Regions from separate parts of the Homo sapiens genome. Here all the other regions are linked to region 1. The links are contacts of gene promoters, found by promoter capture Hi-C in human tissues and cell types (Jung and others, 2019). All regions are on one chromosome and are shown on one strand. Each heading gives the region's core, a stretch centred on a gene start or on the middle of the fragment in contact. The rest is flanking DNA. Distances are from core to core; before and after follow the strand shown. Region 1 holds the start of IRX1 (iroquois homeobox 1). Region 2 has its middle 51 kb from the start of IRX1. Region 3 has its middle 14 kb from the start of LINC01019.

Evidence for each region. Contacts are between HindIII fragments. The study calls those that stand out against the background at their distance.
Region 2: a contact is called between a fragment that was not itself captured here and the fragment with the promoter of IRX1 in region 1, in 1 of the 25 tissues and cell types used here (small bowel).
Region 3: a fragment that was not itself captured here is called in contact with the fragment with the promoter of IRX1 in region 1 in 1 of the 25 tissues and cell types used here (stomach).

What each region holds. Positions count from the first base shown.
Region 1 is chr5:3,594,509-3,597,280 of GRCh38, forward strand. It overlaps IRX1 (iroquois homeobox 1), which reads left to right and starts at 1,324. Exons shown (of 4, transcript NM_024337.4): 1 at 1,324-1,873. The coding sequence starts at 1,598. RefSeq lists a silencer at 1,027-1,321. The HindIII fragment of the contact is 23,247 bases long and covers 1-2,772 here.
Region 2 is chr5:3,645,702-3,648,473 of GRCh38, forward strand. No RefSeq gene overlaps it. Among named protein-coding and RNA genes, the nearest start is that of IRX1, 51 kb to the left of the region's middle. The HindIII fragment of the contact is 3,301 bases long and covers 1-2,772 here.
Region 3 is chr5:3,548,756-3,551,527 of GRCh38, forward strand. No RefSeq gene overlaps it. Among named protein-coding and RNA genes, the nearest start is that of LINC01019, 14 kb to the left of the region's middle. The HindIII fragment of the contact is 6,314 bases long and covers 1-2,772 here.

The sequences.
Region 1 (2,772 bases), core at 74-2,573:
AGAAGACGCCAGAGTGCGCTGCTGAAATTCCCGCGGAGTCCGGTGTGCTGGAGAGCCGCAGCGGGGTGAACTCCCGGCCCCGTCTCTGCGTAGGAGGTGGTTCGCAAAGTGGCCCCGGGAGCCGGGACTGGTACCCGGTTCCCCACGGCACCGTCCGGAGCTCTCCAGCCACGAGGCGCAGAAGTGGCCTGCCAGCGCCTTCCCAGGCTCAGGGAGGCGAGGAGGCCCGTGCACTTGGCATCTTCTCCCGGGAGCCGCACGGCCAGGGCCGCGGCGAAACGGAGCCCATCTCAAGTGCGCCGCGCCTGGCCGCGTCCTGTAGCCCGACGAGGCTGAGGATGGAGAGGGGAGACGCAGGGAGAAGAGGGACGCGGGACTTGGACCCAAGAGGCCGCTCCGTTGCCGGTCTGGCGGCGGCGCCGACTCGGGTTCGCGCGTTCCACACAAGTTTCCTGTCTGCCTCTGCACACCTGGTGGACAAACCGGGCGTCCAGGCCACACCGTCTTCCCCCTTCGCGGGGGCGCGGGGGATGTTTCCCTCCGGCTGCCAGGGGGCTTTCTGGGTGAAGAGAAAGCCCCTCCCCCCGCGTCTCCCCCACCCCTCCCTCCGAGAACCCGCGGCGCCGACTGCGCCTGCTTCCCCCGAGCTGGCGACTTCTCCGCGGGATTTGCCCTCGCTCAAAGTTTGCACAATTGAAAGAGCCCGCAGAGCTCGGCCGCTCCCCGCTTCCCCAAGGGCGGCGAGGCCGGTCATTGGCAGACGATCGGTTACTACCCAGTAGGGGCCCACGGGAACCCGCATCTGGAGTCGGGGGTGTCACGCCACGCCGGTTCAGTGGCTCGCGGAGAGCGTCCGGGTGCACTTCTGCCAAAGATGTCCCCTGGAGGCCCCGGCCGCGCGGGACTCGGGGGAGAGGCCGCTCCCCCCTCGCTGTCACCAGCGTCCAGGCCGCCGGCCCCTTCCCCGCTGCCCAAACAGTAGAAAAGCAGGCGCCAAGTTGTTTTTGTTAAAAAGGGGACACACCTCGGCCGCGAAACTGCAAACCCGGTGTCAGACAGCTGTAAACCCGTGTCGACAGGTTGTCAGACAGCTGCGGGGGCTGGTCGGGAAGGAGCCCACGGCCTCCGGGCCCACACCCCGCCGCCCCGACGCGCGCGCCCACCGCGAGAGTAGCTGGCCGGGCCGGCACGGGGCACCACGTGCTCGCGGGAGGGGCGGGAGCGGCCGGCGAGGGCGGGCGGGAGGCAGGGAGGGGGCGGGAGGGGAGCCAGGGGCGGGGCCTGCGCTCAAGGGGATGCCAATCAAAGCATCAACTTCAAATTGTGTCTGAAAGCCCCGCCGCCGAGCGGAGGGCGGCCGCCGCAGTCGGCGCGCGATTGCGGATCCGGGCGCAGCCGGGAGCCGGGCGCCTGCGAGCACCGGGCAGAGGAGCCGCGACCGGCCTCCATCTCCCGGCCCGCCCGAGCGCGCCCGGCCGGCCGCCCGCTCCTCCCTAGACCCCTCGCGGCGCCCCCTGCAACCCCCTCCGGCCGGCCTCCGCCTCCCTCCCCGCGCCTTTAATACTCGCCCGCTGCGGCGGTCGCCGAGTCCGCGGACATGTCCTTCCCGCAGCTGGGCTACCCGCAGTACCTGAGCGCCGCGGGGCCGGGCGCCTACGGCGGCGAGCGCCCGGGGGTGCTGGCCGCGGCCGCTGCGGCGGCTGCCGCCGCCTCGTCGGGCCGACCGGGGGCCGCGGAGCTGGGCGGCGGGGCAGGCGCGGCTGCAGTCACCTCGGTGCTGGGCATGTACGCGGCGGCGGGGCCGTACGCGGGCGCGCCCAACTACAGCGCCTTCCTGCCCTACGCCGCGGATCTCAGCCTCTTCTCGCAGATGGTGAGTGCGCCCGGCCTCCCCCGCTTCTCCTCTGTCTCACCCGCGCCAGGGCAAGGGTGGCGGGTCGCCCGGGAGGGAGAGACTACGGGTGGACCTGGTCCGGAAGAGGAACTAGAAAGGTCCGGGGGCAGGTTCCCGGTGGCCGAGGCCGCGGCCCCCGGGGACGCAAGAGGGCTGGGAGGCCGGGCGGGTGACGGCTGGGCCATCTCGGCCTGGGAAAGCGGAAGGCCCGGGCCAGGGAGCGGGTAGCGAGTGAATTCAGAGAGGCCGCAGAAGCAGGCCCGTGGAGCGGTGCCCGCGCTGGAGGTCGGGGGCAAACTCGCCTGGCTCGGCCAGGGCGCCCGGGCAGGCCCACGGGGTTCCTGCAGGTCGGCCCGGCGTAGCGTAGCAGGACTTCCCTTCCTGGCCGCGGGTTCCACTCGCGCGGCCTCTTTAGTTTTCGAACCGAGTCTGGAAAACTTGGTTTTCTCCCTCTTTAGCAGCTCCGAGATAGTTGTATCCGAGTTTGCCAGACAGACCCCTTCTAAGCCTGGTAGAGTCAATCAAAATAATCTTAACAATAGAGGTCCAAAGGGATGGAGAGGTCTCTCCACGGCGTGAGTGCGAATTTGAGATTAAACAAAAATTAAGTTGCAGTAATGTGCTGGTGTCTGAAACGGTGTTTGATTTTACTTTTGTAAGTTGCCCAAGTTTTCATTTCATTTGCACAGAAAGAAAAGCACTTTTCTTCCTGCGTTACATAATGGAGGATTAAAGAAAACAGTGTCCCTTGGCTTAAAACAAATGGTGTCCTCTTAGTCTCCCGTCCCAGTGGGCGTTAGATGTCGGGGCAGGCGGCTGCACACTTAATTCTCCGCGGGGGCATTGGCCTGTCTGCCGGTCCAAATCATCCATTTTCC
Region 2 (2,772 bases), core at 117-2,616, 51 kb after region 1:
TTAAACTAAAGAGCTTCTGCACAGCAAAAGAAACTATCAACAGAGTGAACAGACAGCCTACAGGATGGTAGAAGCTATTTGCAAACAATGCATTCCACAAAGGTCTAATGTCCAGAATCTACAAGAAACTCAAACAACTCACAAACAAAAAACAAATAATTCCGTTGAAAACTTGGCAAAAGACATAAACAAACACTTCTCCAAAGAAAACATACAAGCAGCCAACAAACATGAGAAAATGCTCAACATCTTCAGAGAGATGCAAATTTAAACCGCAATGACATACCACCTCTCACAAGTCAGAACGACTATTACGAAAAAGTAAAAAAGTAACAGATGCTGGCTGGGTATGGTGGTTTATGCCTGTAATCCCAGCACTTTGGGAGACTGAGGCAGGAGAATCGCTTGAGCCCAAGAGTTCAAGACCATCTTAGACAACATAACAAGACCTCATCTCTACAAAAAATATTTAAAAATAAGGTGGGCATGGTGGCACATGCCTGTAGTCTCAGCTACTTGGGAAGCTGAAGTGGGAGGATCACTTGAGCCCGGGAAGTTGAGGCTATGGTGAGCCATGACCATGCCACTGTACTCTAGCCTGCATGACAGACCAAGACCCTGTCTCAAAAAAAAAAAAATAAATAAATAAAAATAAAAAATAACAGAAGCTGGTGAGGCTGCAGAGAAAAGGTTATGCTTATACATTGTTGGTGGGGATGTAAATTAGTTCAACTACTGTGGAAAGCAGTTTGGACATTTCTCAAAGAATTAAAAGCAAAACTACCTTTAGATCCTGCAATCCCATATCTGGGTATTTGTATTTACCCAGAGGAAAATAAATAATTCTACCAAACAGACACATGTGTGCGTATGTTTATCACAGCACTATTCACAATAGCAAAGACATGAAATCAACTTAAATATCCATCAACACTGGACTGGATAAAGAAAATATGATACATATACACAATGGAATACTACTCAGACAAACAAAAGGAAGGAAATCATGTCCTTTCCAGCAACATAGATGAAGTTGGAGGCCATTATACTAAGCAAATGAACACAGGAACAGAAAACCAAATACTGCATGTTCTCACTTATAAGTGGGAGCTAAACTTGGGATACACATGGACATAACAATGGGAACAATAGACACTGGGCTCTACAAAGAAGGGAGGGAGGGAGAGAGAGAGGGGGCAAGGTATGAAAAATGACCTATTGAGTACTGTGCTCAGTACTTGGGTGACAGTTTCAATTGTACCCCAAATCTCAGCATCACGCAGTATACTCTGGTAACAAACCTGCACAGGTACCCACTGAAAATAAAATAAAAATTGAAATCATAAAAAAGAAAGTTTTAGCTATTCTAGAGGGCACCTTGAAAAGAAGACTCCCATCAAGCCAACTGAGCATTTGGAATATTCTCTGCCTTCCCCACCAAGAACCTTGGATTTCTTTCTTTCTTTCTTTCTTTTCCTTTTTTTTTTTTGAGATGGAGTCTCACTCCATTACCCAGGCTGGAGTGCAATGGCATGGTCTCGGCTCACTGCAACCTCTGCCTCCAGGTTTCAAGTGATTCTGCAGCCTCACTTTCCCAAGTAGCTGGGACTGCAGGTGTGTGCCACCACGCCCGCCTAATTTTTGTATTTTTAGTAGAGACAGGGTTTCACTATATTGACCAGGCTGGTCTCAAACTCCTGACCTCGTGATCCACTCGCCTCAGCCTCCCAAAGTGTTGGGATTACAGGTATGAGCCACCGTGCCCGGCCTGAGCCTTGGATTTCTAAGGACTGTCGTGCATAGATCCTAGATTTTTCCAGATTTTCCAGACCAGTTCTGGTCCACAGAACCTCTCTCTCAACAAACCCCACAGCCATGTTTTGTCCACAGAAATGGGCCTGGCAAGACCCCTAATTTTGAGCTTTGTTTTTGCCATTTCCCCCAGTGCCATGTCTGCACTGCCTCTGTTGCTGGAGGCATTCCTGAACAGAAATTTGACTTGACACATGTTTTTCAGTTGTTTGAAAGGTCATCAACTCACTCACCCACTGGGACAATCAATCCATCACCCATCAATCAAATAATTCAACAGATGCTTATTAAATGTTTGGTGGTGTCATGCCCACATACGGTGTCTGTCCTCAGGAAGCTCCAGGAACCCAGGAAGGAATCTTAGTGCTTCTCAGCAGGTCACGTGGAAGCCCTGGCAGTTTTCAGAGATGTGCAGCTGGTGGGGGATTGCAGAGCCCCTGCTGGGGTCTCTTCGCACTTGCTCCAGGAATGAGGGGCTCTGATGAGCTTCATGACCTGGTTATGTGTTCATTAGTAACATAAAGACATAATCCTCAAAGACAGTCTTTCCTTTTTATAGTCTTTCCTTTTAATGGCCAAACATAGATGAGAATGGTCATTTTCTAGTGTTTTCCAAATTACTTTGTTATGTCATGATCTAGCTTTTTGAAATCTTTCCATTGTCTTAGCTGTGGCATTACATACTTCAAAACTCTGCTTATAATTTTGTTTTCATATGTAGGAAGAATTCTGAGTAGGGCATCAGGGAACCCAGCTCCCCATCTCAGCTTGGCTGTGGACATGGGGGTAGCGCTGGTTGGATCACTCTGTGCTCTATTTTTCACTGTTGAAGGATGGGGTCACTGGGGTGACTCCTGGGGTCCTTCTCACCAGTGGCAGTTGTGGTCCTGTTTGTTCGGCACACTGACCAAGGAGTGGGAAGAAGGGCAGTCAGGGTGGCTCGAAGGCAAATGGCTGCTG
Region 3 (2,772 bases), core at 103-2,602, 46 kb before region 1:
GTCAGGAGTTCAAGACCAGCCTGGCCAACATAGTGAAGCCCTGTCTCCACTAAAAATACAAAAATTAGCCAGTCATAGTGACATGTACCTGTAATCCCAGCTACTCAGGAGGCTGAGGCAGGAGAATCGTTTGAACCCGGCAGGCGGAGGTTGCAGCGAGCCGAGATCACACCATTGCACTCCAGCCTGGGCAACAAATGTCGTCTCAGGAAAAAAAAAAAAAAAAGGTTGGACAATCAGAAATGATAAGGGGGATATTAACACTGACCCCAAAGAAATACAATCATCAGAGAATACTATAAACACCTCTATGCACATCAACTAGAAAATCTAGAAGAAATGAATAAATTTCTGGACACATACACCCACCGAAGACTGAACCAGGAAAGAACTGAATTCCTGAGTAGACCAATAACGAGTTCTGAAATTGAATCAGTAATAAATAGACTACCAACAACAACAAAAAAAAACCCAGGACCAGATAGATTTACAGCTGCATTCTACCAGAGGTACAAAGAAGAGCTGGTACCATTTCTATTGAAACTATTCCAAAAAATTGAAAAGGAATAATTCCTCCCAAACTCATTCTACAAGGCTAGCATCATCCTGATACCAAAACCTGACAGAGATACAACAACAACAAAAAACTTCAGCACAATATCTTTGATGAACATTGACACAAAAATCCTCAACAAAATACTGGCAAACCGAATACAGCAGCAGGTCAAAAAGCTTATTTGCCACCATCAAGTAGGCTTCACCCCCAGGATGCAAGGCTGGTTCATATATACAAATTAATAAATGAGATTCATCATATAAATAGAACCAAAGACAAAATAATTATCAAAAGACCATGATTATCTCAGTAGATGCAGAAAAGGCCTTTGATAAAATTAAATATCACTTCATGTTAAGCTCTCCCCCAAAAAACTAGGTATTGAAGAAACATACCTCAGAAGATTAAGAGCCATATATGATAAACCCACAGCCGATATCATATTGAATGAGCAAAAACTGGAAGCACTCCCCTTGAAAATCACCACAAGACAAGGTTGTCCTTTTTCACCATTCCTCTTTAACATAGTATTGGAAGTTCTGGCCTGGGCAATCAGGCAAGAGAAAAAAATAAAGTGTATTCAAATAGGAAGAAAAGAAGTCAAGCTACCTTTGCTTGCAGATGACTTGATTTTATATCTAGAAATCCCAATTGTCTCAGCCCAAAAGCTTCTTATGCTAATGAGCAACTTTATCAAACTCTCCAGATTCAAAATAAATGTGCAAAAGTCACTAGCATTCCTGTACACCAAGAGCAGGCGAGCCAAGAACCAAATCACTAATGTACTCCCACTCACAATTGCCACAAAAAGAACTTAAAAACCTAGGAATGGCTGGGCACGGTGGCTCATGCCTATAATCCCAGTACTTTGGGAGGCCAAGGCTGGTGGATCACCTGAGGTCAGGAACCCGAGACCAGCCTGGCCAACATGGTGAAACCCCATCTCTACTAAAAATATACAAAATTAGCTGGGCTTAGTGGCACGCACCTGTAATCCCAGCTACTCGGGAGGCTGAGGCAACAGAATAGCTTGAACCTGGGTGGTGGAGGTTACAGTGAGCTGAGATCGCATCATTACACTTCAGCCTAGGCAAGAAGAGCAAAACTTCATTTCAAAAAAAAAAAAAAAGAAAAGAAAAAGAAAAAAAAATACAGCTAACAAGGGAAGTGAAGGACCTCTTCAAAGAACTACAAAACACTGCTCAAAGAAATCAGAGATGATACAAACAAATGGAAAAACATTCCATGCTCATGAATAGAAAGACTCAATATCATGAAAATGGCCATACTGTCCAAAGTAATTTATAGATTCAAAGCTATTCCTATTAAACTACTATTGAAATTCTTCACAGAATGAGGGAAAAAATGTTAAAGTTCAATAGAACCAACAAAAAGAGCCCACATAACCAAAGCAATCCTAAGGAAAAAGAGCAAAGCTGGAGGCATCATGCTACCTGACTTCAAACTATACTACAGGGCTACTGTAACCAAAACAGGATGGCACTTGTACCAAAACAGACACCTAGACCAATTAAACAGAATAGAGAACCCAGAAATAAAACTGCACACCTGCAACCATCTGATTTTCAACAAACCTGACATAAGCAAGCAATGAGAAAAGGATTCCATATTTATTTTTTATTTATTATTTATTGTTTTTGAGACAGAGCCTCTCCCTGTTGCCCAGGCTGGAGTACAGTGGTGCAATCTTGGCTCACTGCAACCTCCGCCCCCAGGTTCAAGTGATTCTCCTGCCTCAGCCTCCGAAGTAGCTGGGATTAAAGGTGCCCACCACCATGCCTGGCTAATTTTTTTATTTTTAGTAGAGATGGGGTTTCACCATGTTGGCCAGGCTGGTCTTGAACTCTTGACCAGAAGTGATCCATCCACCTCTGCCTCCCAAAGTGCTGGGATTTATTAAATACGGAATCCTGCCTGGCATGAGCCACCATGCCTAGCCAGATTCCCTATTTAATAAATGGCACTGGGAGAACTGGCTATCCATGTGTGTGAAATTGAAACAGGACCCCTTCCTTACACCACATACAAAAATCAACTCAAGATGGATTAAAAACTTAAATTTAAAACCCAAAACTAAGAATCCCAGAAGAAATCCTAGGTAAAACCATTCAGGATATAGGCACAGGCAAAGATTTCATGATGAAAATGTCAAAAGCAATTGCAACGAAATAAAAAAATGACAAATGGGATCTAAT